2 separate regions of the Homo sapiens genome follow, and region 2 is linked to region 1. Evidence: promoter capture Hi-C in human tissues and cell types (Jung and others, 2019). All regions are on one chromosome and are shown on one strand. Each heading gives the region's core, a stretch centred on a gene start or on the middle of the fragment in contact. The rest is flanking DNA. Distances are from core to core; before and after follow the strand shown. Region 1 holds the start of PNISR (PNN interacting serine and arginine rich protein). Region 2 overlaps USP45 (ubiquitin specific peptidase 45).

Region 1 (7,021 bases), core at 1,369-3,868:
CCACATTGGCCAAATTTTCTACTTTAAACACTGAAAACAGAGGAAGTTAATAAAAATTTTAACCTATAAAGTCCCCTGGTTGTTAGTCATTAACAGCAGATTGTCAGATAAGACTGGTAAAATGATGGCTGCTAAGCATTTGATGATCCAGGCGCAGGATGATCAAACTGCAGCAGATCATGCACGTGACAGCTGCTTACATAGAAATTTAACACCACAACACACATTCTTAGAAAATTCTGTGTTGAAATACATACACTTACCTGATGTGTCCATAAGATCATAATGTTACGGGGAACTCTTAGAACAGAGTGGTTAGAGAAAGGGAACTGGAATTGGAACTGTAAAATTCATTTTCTGGTCTGGTAAATAGCAATTGCTGAGGGTGTCTCATTAAACTGGCACAAGGAACAAAATGTGAGGTATTTAATAATCCTCTCCACTTCACAATGCATTTCCAAAATGACTGGCCTACATTAGGATCATTGTTGAACATATTAATGCAAACATATAGCAGATGTAAAAATTTCTGTGTGCAAAGCAGATGCTGGCCACTTGGAGGGCAGAGGTGAGGGGGAAATCCCTTACCCGAAAATTGCCTCACCTTTACTAGGGAAACAAGCAAAGAATTACAATATGATTATAGAGAGTAGGAACATGACAGTTTCACTAGGCCAATCAGGTTTCTCTAAGAAGATAGAACATTCCTCTGATGAGAATGTTTCTCAGAGAATTAAACTTGAAAATCAGACCTGATGCAAAAAACTTGGAAAATGCACAAAATCACAGAGCAAAATTAGAGATTACTGATAACATGTGGTATATGTCCTTCTAGTTTTTGCTCCATACAGTGGTTTTTATTTATTTTATTCTTTTGAGACAGAGACTCACTCTGTTGCCCAGGCTGGAGTGCAGTGGAGGGATCTCGGCTCACTGCGACCTCTGACCCTGAGTTCAAGCAATTCTCCTGCCTCAGCCCCCCTAGTAGCTAGGATTACAGGCGCCTGCCACCACGCCCAGGTAATTTTTGTATTTTTAGTAGAGACGGGGTTTCACCATGTTGGCCAGGCTGGTCTTGAACTCCTGACCTCAAGTGATCTGCCCGCCTCGGCCTCCCAAAGTGCTGGGATTACAGGCGGGAGCCACCAAGCCCGGCCCATACAGTGATTTTTTAAAATCAGACTGTCCAGTAGTCTTATTTGTGCTAAGTGGAAATTAGGGAAAGGGTCAGAGAAATAGGGATTTCCTTTTGCCTTCAGTAGTATCCTCATGAACCTGCGTCATGGTGTTGTTAGGTGTAATTAATGAAGGTTTCTCACAAGATAAAATGTTATTTTGAGGACCACGTCCGTGGATTGGAGGAAAGGCAGATGGTTAGCTAGTGACGACTTTATTATAATGCTAATTCAGGAGTATCTGGGTCTCTAGTGCTGAGGAAAACTGAATTTTCATGCAAAGGGCATCTATATTTTCACATCTGTATCTTTATCCATCTAGCTGTGCTCTTACTATTTTGTTTCTACGGTAATTTGCTATTTCTTTTGCACGACAATTGCCCAATGAAATAATTCAGATACTTCGTGCACTTTGTCACGCAGAAGTTTTCATGTTACTCTCTGGAAAGGCACTTCCCAAGATGTAGCTAATAAACACTGTATCTTTGGAACATTTTTGTTTTCCTTTTAACTTGTAGCTCCTAGCCTGGAAATTGATACTTTTGACACTTGAACGTTGTTCATATAAAAACACTGTGAAATCAACATACTGTCTTTGAGGAATGGCATTGCATGCGTCCTTTTGAGAAGCCATCTTGTAGTTGAAGGAAAGCAGCAGGACGGAAACCAGACTTCCCCCCCACGGTTCCCTAAAAGTCACGGATAAAGAATGAAAAACCGGGACTAGTTAAGCCAAGGAGAGAAGAGCAAGTGTTCCCGGAAGGGGGCGCGATGTGTTGAGGTTAACAAAGAGAAAGACAGCTGCGGGGTCAGCTAAGGTCTCCGCTTTCGCTACCGACCCAGACTGCTCACCTTCACAAACTCACGTTTTCCTCAAGCGGCACCCTCGGCAGCGCTCAAGTGAGAGTATTCCATCCTTGGAATACTCCGAGAAGGTTCGAGCCAGAAGTTGGATTGCCTGAAATGCCGCTTCCAGCGCACTAAGTAACTTGAACTGCGCTAAGCAACTGGCCAGAATTGGTTTGGTTTGGTTTGACCCTGGGGTTCCTCCGTAGTCTGTAAGTGGAGTTGCGAACTCAACCCCTTCTCCAAGGCGGGAGTGTTTCTAGGAGGGAACATACTTCCCCTTAAAGGAAGATCACGTTGCTAAAGTAAAAAATTTGAAGGCGCCCTATGTGTAGAACACTTACGTTCTTGGCTTTCTGGCCACTATAAAGATGGGTCGGGAATGGCGCCAGCTACGTTAAAAAGTAACGTGCAGGAATGGTTCAGTTGCCCGGTGTTGACCAGAGTAGAGATGGTTTTGCCCACAAAAAAAATGGCGCCGAAACATGTCAATCCGCACAATCACGTGTTCACAAACCTGGATGAGAGATGGTATGGCTTCAGATGACAAACGGATGTTATTATTCTTTACTTCCGGGTGAGACAAATCGGGCGCCATCTTGTCTTGTTCCCGAAGAAGTAGAAGCATCGAAAGCGTTGGAGAGGTGTTACCGGAACGGCGGCGACAAGGGTGTTCCCGAACTAGAGTGGGTAAGTGATGGAGAACAATTATACGTGGGCACTTGCCGGACCATTACAACGTTCTTGGTTTCTGTGGCGAAGGTAGCATAACTTAAAATAGGCTGCGTACGCTGCTTGGCGCGACCGCTGGAACCTCATTCCTTTAAAGCGCTGCGGTCCGCCAGACTTGGTAAATCAGAGCGCTGCTTTCGCTGAAAAGGAAATGTCCTTGTTAAAGAGAGTGCTCACGGTCCCATCTTCTCACAGAGTTTCCTCTCGGACGAGAAGGGACTAATTGTTGGGTTCCTGACCGGCCGTTAAACACTGCGCGTGCGCAGTGGGAACCCCCTTGTGGGAAGGGGGTTCATGGGGGCGGAGGAGGCGGGGGCTCGCGACCTGGAGCTTATACCCTTTGAGGCTCTGACTACGCAGGCGCAGTTCCTTAGTTTGTGTTTTTCGTGTGTTCTTACCCAATGATGGATATTATGTGTTAAGCTTCGCTAAAGGTAGTATCCAATATTTCAGTTTTTTACCCTGTGGTGGATAGTATCGTCATCTGAACAAATTGAGCATTAGACAAATTTGTTTGTGGGTTGTTAAATTAACATTCTAGCTTAAGATTTTAATTCAACATTAATCTTTTACATCTTTTTACTTCCCCCTGCCCCCAAGTAAAACAAAATAAACTTAGAATTCCTCATTTGAGTGCAGCAGGGCGAAAACAACAGCAACCAGACTACTAAAGATTTTACTTGTGGAATTTTTTTGTAAAGTGGCAAAGGGCTTATAGAGAAAACAGTTCTTTAAAGATGTTCTTGAGAGTTTTTTTTTTTAACTTACTAATAGACTTTATGTTTTAGAACAGTTTTTGTTTACGTTGAGCACATACGACGTCCCCACTACACACACAGTTTATCTTCTTATTAATAGATGTTAGTATGGTACATTTGTTGCAACTAATGAACCAATAATGATAAATTATTAACTAAGGTCCATAGTTTATTCCTACTTCCTCACATTTTACCTAAAGTCCTTTTTCTGTTCCAGGATGCCAGCTAGGATATCACATTACATTTAGTTGTTGTATATTCTTAGGCTGTATATTCTTGGCTGTGACAGTTTCTCAGGCTTAACTAGTTTTTGATGACTGTTAAGGGCTGACTTGTGCCCCTCTAAAATTCGTATCTTGAAGTCCTAACCTCAGTACCCCAGAACGTGACTGTATTTGGAGAGAGGGTCTTTAAAGAAGATGAGGTCACTAGGGTGGACCTTAGCCCAATATATTAATAACTGCTGTCCTTATAAGAAGAGAGTAGGATACAGAGGGATGATCATGTGAAGACATAGGGAGAAGACAACCATCCACAAGCCAAGGAGAGAGGCCTTAGAATGAAATCAACCCCATAGAGCTTACACTATACGCCTCCAGAACAGTGAGGAAATAAATTTCTGTTGCTTAAGCCACCCAGTCTTTGGTACTTTGTTATGGCAAGCATACCAAACTAATACAGTGACCTTGACATTTTTTGAGGAGTATGGTCAGGTATATTGTAGGGTGCCCTGCTATTGGAATTTGCCAGACGATTTTCTCATGATTAAAATGGCCTTACGGACTATATCAGGGGAAGATCACAGAGGTAAGATGCCCTTTTCAACACATGCTATCAAGGATACATACTATCAAGGTGACTTATCACATTATTACTGACCTTGATCATCCTTCTGGAGTAGCGTTTGTTAGATTTATCCACTGTAAAGTTACTTCCCCCACCCCTTTTTATACTGTTCTCTTTGGAAGGAAGTCACTTTGCAGAGCCCACGCTTACTGAATGGACAGTTGTGCTCTTCCTCAGTTAGGGTGGAATATTTACATAATTTATTTGGAATTCTCTGTGGGAGATTTGTGTCTTCCCTCACATTTATTTGTTAGTTTATTTTATCATATCCTTATGGGCTTGTGGATGTTTATTACATAACTTATATTATAATCCAGTACTTCTTTATTTTGTTGCTCAAATTGTACCAGCTTTGGCCATTGGCAGCTCTTCGAGTTGTCTACTGTTCTCCTTTGACATGTTCCTATCAATTTTTTTTTTTTTAGCACTTTATTGCTTCCTGGCAGTATACATGCCCCAGACTCATCTTTTATATTTCCTGTCGCAGTCCTAGAGTCAGCTATTTCTTTAAAGATCTCTGATTCCTTTTATTGAAGAATGGTATTAAAACCAAGTTCTCGTGCCTAGGTGTGCTTGTTGCTACTAGGGTGTCATTTTGGGCGCTCTCGCTACATTTATTTTTAAATTATTATTGGGGGGGTATTTATAACCGACTCTCCAATTCTCCAGTTTTTTTTTTTTTTTTTTTTTTTGAGACAGAGTGTCACTCTGTTTCCCAGACCGGAGTGCAGTGGTGGCACAATCTTGGCTCATTGCAACCCCTGCCTCCCGGGTTCAAGTGATTCTCCTGCCTCAGCCTGCTAAGTAGCTGGGACTACAGGTATATGCCACCATGCCCAGCTAATTTCTGTATTTTCAGTAGAGTGGAGGTTTCGCCATGTTGGCCAGGCTGGTCTCGAATTCCTGGCCTCAAGTGATGAACCCACCTTGGCCTGCCAAAGTGCTGGGTTTACAGGCATGAGCCGCCATGCTTGTCCTCCACTTTTAAAATAGTCTTTTGAGCTACAAGCTGCAAGTATTTCAGTATATACTAAAATGCATGTCACATAAAGTAGCAAAATTTCTGTTTTCCGTATTTCGAATGATTACAAGATTAATTTTTACCAGTGCCATTTCCACCTAATCTGAATTAAACAAATAAATTCTTTTTTGACTTTGAGGTCAGTCAACTCATGTAAGACTGAAATGTCAGGGGTGAAGAGGATTGTTGTATTTTCTGGCTTCTCAGCTTTGTGGTTGATTTGAGAAATATTTCATCCTATGCATCAAATGATAGATGTGTTTCTGTAGCTCTTTGATTTTGTAGTTGATGCTCAAGGACTTTAAAATACCACATTTTAATTCTCATCCATCTCTGTCACAGTCTCTGAGTGACTTTTGTAAATATTAATGATTGTCATTTTGGCCACACGGGGTGGCTCATGCCTGTAGTCCCAGCACTTTGGGAGGCTGAGGAGGATGGATCATTGAGGCCAGAAGTTTGAGGATAGCCTGGGCAACATGGTGAAACTCCATCCCTACTAAAAAATACAAACATTATCCTCGCGCGGTGGCATGCACCTGTAGTCCCAGCTACTCGGGAGGCTGAGGCATGAGAATTGCTTGAACCTGGGAGGTGGAGGTTGCCGTAAGCCGAGATCACACTGCTGCATTCCAGCCTGGGCGACAGAGTGAGAATTTCTCAATAATAAATAAATGATTGTCATTTAAACAAGTTGTTTTAGGACCTCAAAGCGATGAAGTTCTAATATAGATACATTTAAGAAAAGGATAAAATAGATGATGGCCATTTCTGGTTGTATTAGTTTTCTAGGGATATTGTAGCAAATTACCACAAACTGGCTGATTTCAAACAACAGAAATTTATTCTTCCACAGTTCTGAAGGCTAACAGTGTAAAATTGAGGTTTTGGTAGGGCATGCTCTCTAATGGCTTTGTAGGGGATTCTTGTCTCTTCCTAGCTTTTGGTAGTTCTTGTCAATCCTTGATGTTCCTTGGCTTATAGAGCCATCTACTCCCAATCTGTACCACTGTGGTCATGTTACATTCTCCCTGTAAGTGTCTTATGTCTCCTTTTTAATAAGGTCCCTCCTAATCAAATATGAACTCACTGTAATTTGAATACATCTGCAAAGACCCTATTTACAAATAAGGACATACTCACAAGTATCACTTGATACTCACAAGTATCAGGAGTTAGGACTTCAGTGTATCTGTTGGATGGGGACACAATTCATTCCATAACACTGGTGATAGCTATCACTTGATTTTTTTGCGGCAGTGTGTGGTGGCTTTGATGATCTGATACAAACCTTGGTTATTCATCTTTCTGTTCTTCCCAGACCCCATTTGTTTTCCAAGGAAATAGCAGTTCACTTTACCACATGAAGGGAAATACTGTTAGGAAAGTCTTGCAGCCTTGCCCGTCATTAATCAAATTTCTCCAAACTTGAAAACCCAAGCCTAACAAGCTTTAAAATTAAGTCTAAAGGAAGAGTGAATAAATTGGAATCAATTTTTGATATTATAAAATCACAGTAGCAATATTGGAATGTCATTTTCATGGTTGAACATTAATGTATTTACTTGCTAACATTTCAGTGAATTATAAATATTTAACCACTTAACATGGACAAAACATTATGGAGAATTTAAATTATTATA
Region 2 (7,021 bases), core at 484-2,983, 87 kb before region 1:
ATAATGTACATTGTGTCCATTAAGCAATTTCTCATTCCTCACCCCACTCCCATCCTTCCCAGTCTCCAGTGCCCAGACACAATTTTGATGATAAAAAGTATTGGAAGCTCTAATAATTGGACTTTTAATTTTGCCCTTTTGCCTCAAATGGAAATTGGAAAACTACAGATAAATAATTGCCGAATTCTGGGTTACTGTACCAAATGATTCTGTCTGTTTAGACATTACATATGGCAGAAAAATCATCAGAAATTGCCTCTACATTACCAAGTTAATTTTGAGTCAGTGTTTTTGAAAAAAGGCACAGGTTGCTTACAGTATGTAGGTCAAATGCCTGGTTTTGTTTATTATTTTGCTAGCATTATCTGTGTTAATGCTCATCTTTATCAAGAGCTTATCTGTACCACAGCGAGAAAATATAATCAGTTTCTCATAGGCCATTTTCCCTGTACTTTATTAGTTATACCTATCTCTTTTCAGGACATCAAATTTAAATTGATGGAGGTAGGTTTGCAAATTTGGGGTTAGAAAGATCAAATTTGCCGTCTGCTTATGTCTCTTTTCCCTTATAAAAGACTAGATCAGTTTTTGGTAAGTTAGTTGGGAGTTGGAGGGGTTAGAGGTTTGAGGAAAGTGAAGAAGATTTGAAATGGCTCTGTGGATAGTATGTAAGTTGACCAGAAGGTGAAGTGAATAATAATGGACCTAGTCTGCTTTCTTAAGAGACTTTCTCCCGACATGGAGAAAATGGTTAATTGGGTTCATCTAGGATTGGGTTCTGCGAGAGAGGTGATGTAGTCCTTAAGGCTCTGCACAAGTATTCCGGTTCACCTATTTTTGGGTACATGTAATGCTGCACTCTTTGTACATGGGCAACCCCTCTCCATGTCTGCTTGAAGTTAAATGTGCCATGTGACTTGCTTTAGGAAGCAGCTCTCCATTTGCCATTTCCACTTCTCCCTGCCCTGCTGTAAGGGTCATGGAAGGACTTGTTGAGATGCAGCCTCTTGTCAGCCTGGACACTATAGGAAAATATGAGTGGCTGATCAGGCAAGTTGGAAGAACTGGGAAGTTGCTGTCAGAGAAGGGGATACTTAAATTAGTGATTTTATAAGGTGGAACTGTAGGGGAGAGTAGATGAGGAAGTTTGGAGGGAGAAGGTAGAGATGAAGTGCTCAAGGAACTCAGAGGCTTTTTACATGTTCCTAACCCGGAAGCCCTTAATTTATTGCAACTTAGTTCAGTAGTGATGACCGTTGGACTTAATGGTAAACTTGAAAGCTCCCTTATTGTGAATTATGGAATGAATAAATCAAGATTTGGAATTTAGTACTGAATTGAAAGATTCATTACCTTGATCATTGAGAAGTAAGTCAGCAACCATGAAAATTGCGATGTTGCTTAGCCACCAGGCAGGAGAGTAAAAGGTAGGCCAAGCTACTCTAACAGAGACTCCAAAATATAGTAGTTTTAAAAAATGCTTAGCTTGTATCTAAAATCTTTGATAATTAACTGAATTTTTAATAAATATAAGGGATAGAGGTAAATAACACTATGAAGAAAGAGACAAATTCAGTGTGAGACATTATATAACTTTGCTGTCGAAAGAGTATTCTATGGGCCCCCAGCAGTGGCTTCAGTTAGAAGCTTTTTAGGTAGGTAGAATCTCAGGTCTTGTGCCAGACTTGTTGCATCAGAACTTTCATTTTAACAAGACCCTCAAGGTGACTCATGCACTGGCCTGATCTCTTTAAAAAGCTAAAGTCTTAGGCAAGTAACAGGTTGGAAGAACTGTTCTGTTAATAGATTAAAAGATACTAAAGAGACATAACCAATATCAAGTGCAAACCTTGATTGAATCTTTTTCAAAAAACCAGCTATAGAAGACAATTTAGGGTCAACTAAGGAAATTAGAATATGATGGAATATGAGATGATATTAGAAAATTATTAATTTTCTTAGATATGATTACATTGTTATATAGGAGAATGTGCTTATTTTTAAGAGATACATGCTGAAGTATTTAGGGATGAACTGTCAAGATCTCTACAACTTTCAAATAGTTCAACTATGTGTATATATATATATATATATATATATATATATATATATATATACACACACTCACATACATATATGTGTCTCTCTATACACACATATTGATATTTAGATAAAAACAAACATAGCTAATTGTTAATAGGTGTGGAATTGGTGGGGCACCATGGCTCATACCTGTAATCCCAGCAGTTTGGGAAGCCAAGGCATGTGGATTGCTTGAGCCCAGGAGTTCGAGACCAGCCTGGGCAACATGGGGAAATCCCATCTCTACTAAGAAATACAAAAAAATTATCTGGGCATTGTGGTGTGCACCTGTAGTCCTAGCTACTTGGGAGGCTGAGGTGGGCGTATCACCTGAGCCTGGGGAGGTTGAGGCTGCAGTGAGCTGAAATCAGGCCACTGCACTCCAGCCTGGGCCATCAGAGTGAGACTTTGTCTCAAAAAATAATAATAGCCGGGCACGGTGGCTCACGCCTGTAATCCCAGCACTTTGGGAGACTGAGGTGGGCGGATCACGAGGTCAGGAGATCGAGACCATTCTGACTAACACAGTGAAACCCTATCTCTACTAAAAATGCAAAAAAAATTAGCCAAGCCTGGTGGCACACGCCTGTAATCCCAGCTACTTGGGAGGCTGAGGCAGGAGAATTGCTTGAACCCAGGACGTGGAGGTTGCAGTGAGCCGAGATCCATCTCAAAATAATAATAATAATAATAATAGTAATAATAATATAAATGTGGAATCTAATTAGTATATGAGTGTTCATTATACTGTTCTTTTAACTTTTGTAGATGTTTAAAATTTTTCATGATAAAAAGCTAGAGTGAAAAACCCCCAAAAATGTAGTAGCTTAAAAAGATAGAAATTTAATTTTCTCTTAATATTCCAGTGCTAGTTGTACAACACAGGTATAGAGTGGCTTTACTATGCTTGGCTTACAGCTATCCATTTTTGATCCAGTATGGCTCATCCAGCTCCTACTATTTCCTTGCTAGCAGAAGGGAGGAAAGGGTAAAGAGAACTCATTATCCAGAAGCAATACTTACTCCGTTGATGAAAACTTTAGTTTTGGTCATTCACCTGGACATCATATATTTAGGGGTTGTGTCTTGGTTCAGCCTGGTATAGCAAATTATTATAGACTGGGTGGTTTAAACAACACAGACTTATTTCTCACAATACTGGGAGCTGGGAAGTACAGGGTCAAGATGCTGGCAAATCTAGTATCTGGTGAGGGCCTTCTTCCTGGTTTATAGATGGCCATCTTCTCGTATATCCTCATGTGGATACAAAGGTAGCTTTCTAGCCTCTTATTATAAGAGGCCAGTCTCATTCATGAGGGCTCCACCTACATGACCTAATTACCTCTCAAAGGCTTCACCTCCAAGTATCATCACTTTGGGGATTAGAGTTCAACATATCAATTTGGAGTGGGGACACAAACATTTAGTCCATAATGGTATAGTTGGCAAAAGCCAATGGAATATACCATGTGTATACTGATTTAACAAAGATTTATTTCATTTCAAGTGATGTTCCCCTCTTCTTCCTCTGTTGATTTCCCGGACCAGTTGAAATTGAAGTCATTTCAGTTTTAATACACATTAAATAAAATATAAAATTTTAATTTTGAAGACTAAAATGTATGAATTTTTTTCCCTCAATCCCTTCAGTAAATAACAGATGCGGGTGAAAGATCCAACTAAAGCTTTACCTGAGAAAGCCAAAAGAAGTAAAAGGCCTACTGTACCTCATGATGAAGACTCTTCAGATGATATTGCTGGTAAATTGTGATATATGGCATCCCAAATAGTGTTGAGAAGAAATAACAATGCAGTTGACCCTTCAACAACATGGGTTTGAACGCTGAGGATCAACTTGTACACAAATTTTTTTCCACCAAACCTAGATGGAAAATACACTATTCTTGGGATGCGTGAAAACTGCATACTTGGCAGGCTGACTTCTAAATGCAGATTCCACGGGGCCCACTGCGGGACTTGAGTATGCACAGATTTGGGTATATGTGGGGAGGTCCTAGAACCAACTACCCCACCCCACCTCCCTGCCTCAAGTATCTGAGGGAAGACTGTATATGTTTTTAATTAAGAAATCTGTTACTCTTTATTTTTACTGTTTTCTGCATAAATATTAGAATCACCTTTTCTAGTTCCAAAAAATCCTGTTGGCATTTTTATTAGGATTTTGTTTAGTTTATAACATGAAGTAACTTAGATTGGCTTTTTTTTTTTTTTTGGTCTCTTTCTCATGGCCTATTAAAACCATGTCACCAAGCCACCAGAGCTTGGCAGATGGCTTTTGGGAGCTGCTGGCCTCAGGGCTTGGTTTTCTCTTTAGCCTCATGCTTTTGATTTGGGCCTCTGAGGATTTTCCTCACTTTCTTGCTAGTTCTCTCCATTTAAAGGGATATTTTTAATATATTTTTTCCATTTTAGGTATGCATAGTTGCATACAGCTATACACAAACACACTCACATATGAGTGCCTATGTCTTCTGAAATCCGAATAAGTTCTAAGGATTGTACCAACGTCAGCTTCCTGGTTTTGATATTTTACTATAGCAGTGCAAAACATTAACATCAGGGGAGGCTCAGTGAAGGGTGAATGAGACCTCCTTGTATATTTCTTTATACCTTCCTGTGAATCTAAAATTAGTTCAAAAATTTAAACTCTAATAAATTAGGGACATCAGATAAGGTCCTAATGATATTTAAAGAGATAATTCAGACATCCTTCAGTGCAGCAAACTGGCTATCGAAACATCATCCCATTTTAGTACATGTATAGCTTTGTATAACCACCACCAATCAAGATACTTGACTGTGTCATCACCACTCTATGTGCTGTCCATTTATAGCAACACCCTCTGCCTTGCGTCCATTGCTCCCTACAACCATGAATCTCTTCTCATTCTATAATTATGTTATTTCATGAACATTATATAAATGGAATTATATAGCATATATCTTTTGAGTTATTTTGTGTGTTCAATCTCTGTGCTTTTTAGTTAACAGCATTTAATACTTTTGAGGTTTGCTCAGTAATGGTAGCACTTTGGTGTAGCAAAGAAAATGTTGAGATTTTGTTTTATCTTATTCAGTAGGTTTAACTTGCCAACATGTAAGTCATGCTATCAGCGTGAATCATGTAAAGAGAGCAATAGCTGAGAATCTGTGGTCAGTTTGCTCAGAATGTTTAAAAGAAAGAAGATTCTATGATGGGCAGCTAGTACTTACTTCTGATATTTGGTTGTGCCTCAAGTGTGGCTTCCAGGTAAGAAAAGTATTATTTATATGTGAGTTTGTCTGAAATGTTTTCCTTAAATGCTTATTGTGAGTTGGACTGTTGGTCATGCATAGGAGTTAAGATAAATTTATTCCAATTTAGATAGAAATTTTCCAGGAATGAACTTAAAAATGATTGTTAAGGTAAAGTAAAAGGTATGCTATGTTCAGAAAGTAATCAGGTGTGGTTTATAAATACTTGCAGAGGTAATTCAACCTATTTGCAGTAGTTCCCATATCTGGACCAGTCTTTACCTTTTGTATTTACTTAGGAAATGGATCTACCTTTCAGATTAATTTTTTTCTCTCTCAAAACAGATTATTCTGCTGCTTTTGCAAAGTAATTTAAAATCTTAAAGTTTAAAAGTTATTGATATCTGTAATAAAGGAATTTTTTTAATGAAATTAAAAGTATATACTTTTTTAAAAAAATAAGAGAAATCTTTATTATTTCACACAAAATGTCCAGAAGTAAGGCCACTTCAGGATTAGTTAATTTAATGGAAAGAACATTAAAAACTGAGGTTTATTCTGTTTTCTGCTGTGCCATCCTCAACCTCATGGTTGTGTTCCTCTTAAAAAACAAACAAAAAAAAAGCCTTCTGGAAAGATTCAGCGGATTTGACTTCCCCTCATGTTGCATTAACCAGAATTGCATCTCATTTCTTTACTTACCTAGTGAGGGAAATCGCTATGATTGGTCTGTGTCTCAGTAGTTCTCAGTAGGCTGGGGTGAAGTTGTGTACGGGATTGGGAAATGTGTGTTTGCAGAAGGGCACCACTGGCCTGCCAGGATGCTGGGTGTTCCACAGTGTGCACATTTTTAAATGATAGGGAAATTAACTTTGCCCATGATTGTTTTAGGTAAATACTGTATATTGAGCATGTTAGCCTGTTGGCAAGAAATTAAATTTAATGAGAATCCATATTACTTTTTTGAAACTTTCTCCTCTGGCCTGAAATTAAAAACAAAACTTTTCAGTATAAGTGTGAGTATAATTTAAGTTTTGATTAATTTGAAACAAACATTTGTAAGTCATACAAAATAAAATTCTGTTCATCTTCAGGGATGTGGTAAAAACTCAGAAAGCCAACATTCATTGAAGCACTTTAAGAGTTCCAGAACAGAGCCCCATTGTATTATAATTAATCTGAGCACATGGATTATATGGTAAGTTAAATTTTGTTAGTTCTTGTGTCCACTAACCACAGCCCCCCAATTTTTTTTTTTCTTTAAGCTTTTAAGGTAAAATATTTAAAGATGTTCTATCAGCTTATGGTTTTTTAACCTGAACACAATCTATGGGATACTTCAAGAAAATTAATATTACCTGTGAATATAAAATTTAAATTGGAAAAATTTTAACTATCTCTCTACTTTTTGTTGTTGTTGAGACAGAGTCTCACTCTGTCGCCAAGGCTGGAGTGCAGTGGCGTGATCTCAGCTCCCTGCAATCTCTGCCTCGTGGGTTGAAGCAATTCTCCTGCCTCAGCCTCCTGAGTAGCTGGGACCACAGGCGCATGCCGCCATGCCTGCCTAATTTTATGTATTTTAGTAGAGACAGGGTTTCACCATGTTGCCCAGGCTGGTCTTTGAACTCCTGAGCTCAGGCAATATGCCCTCCTTGGCCTCCCCAAGTGCTAGGATTACAGGCGT

What was found. The method cuts DNA at HindIII sites, captures the fragments that hold promoters and counts their contacts. A contact is called where the count stands out against the background at its distance.
Region 2: a fragment that was not itself captured here is called in contact with the fragment with the promoter of PNISR in region 1 in 3 of the 25 tissues and cell types used here (H1 embryonic stem cells, dorsolateral prefrontal cortex and hippocampus).

What each region holds. Positions count from the first base shown.
Region 1 is chr6:99,420,905-99,427,925 of GRCh38, reverse strand. It overlaps PNISR (PNN interacting serine and arginine rich protein), which reads left to right and starts at 2,618. Exons shown (of 12, transcript NM_032870.4): 1 at 2,618-2,711. PNISR-AS1 (PNISR antisense RNA 1) reads right to left here and starts at 3,055. Exons shown (of 3, transcript NR_125843.1): 1 at 2,812-3,055; 2 at 2,539-2,702. RefSeq lists enhancers at 1,817-1,866, 1,759-2,053, 1,937-2,156, 1,756-2,276, 2,277-2,796 and 3 more and a silencer at 2,960-3,140. The HindIII fragment of the contact is 23,928 bases long and covers 1-5,002 here.
Region 2 is chr6:99,506,942-99,513,962 of GRCh38, reverse strand. USP45 (ubiquitin specific peptidase 45) reads left to right here. Exons shown (of 18, transcript NM_001346022.3): 2 at 3,733-3,842; 3 at 5,181-5,353; 4 at 6,432-6,535. The coding sequence starts at 3,743. Among named protein-coding and RNA genes, the nearest start is that of USP45, 5.0 kb to the left of the region's middle. The HindIII fragment of the contact is 6,905 bases long and covers 1-5,185 here.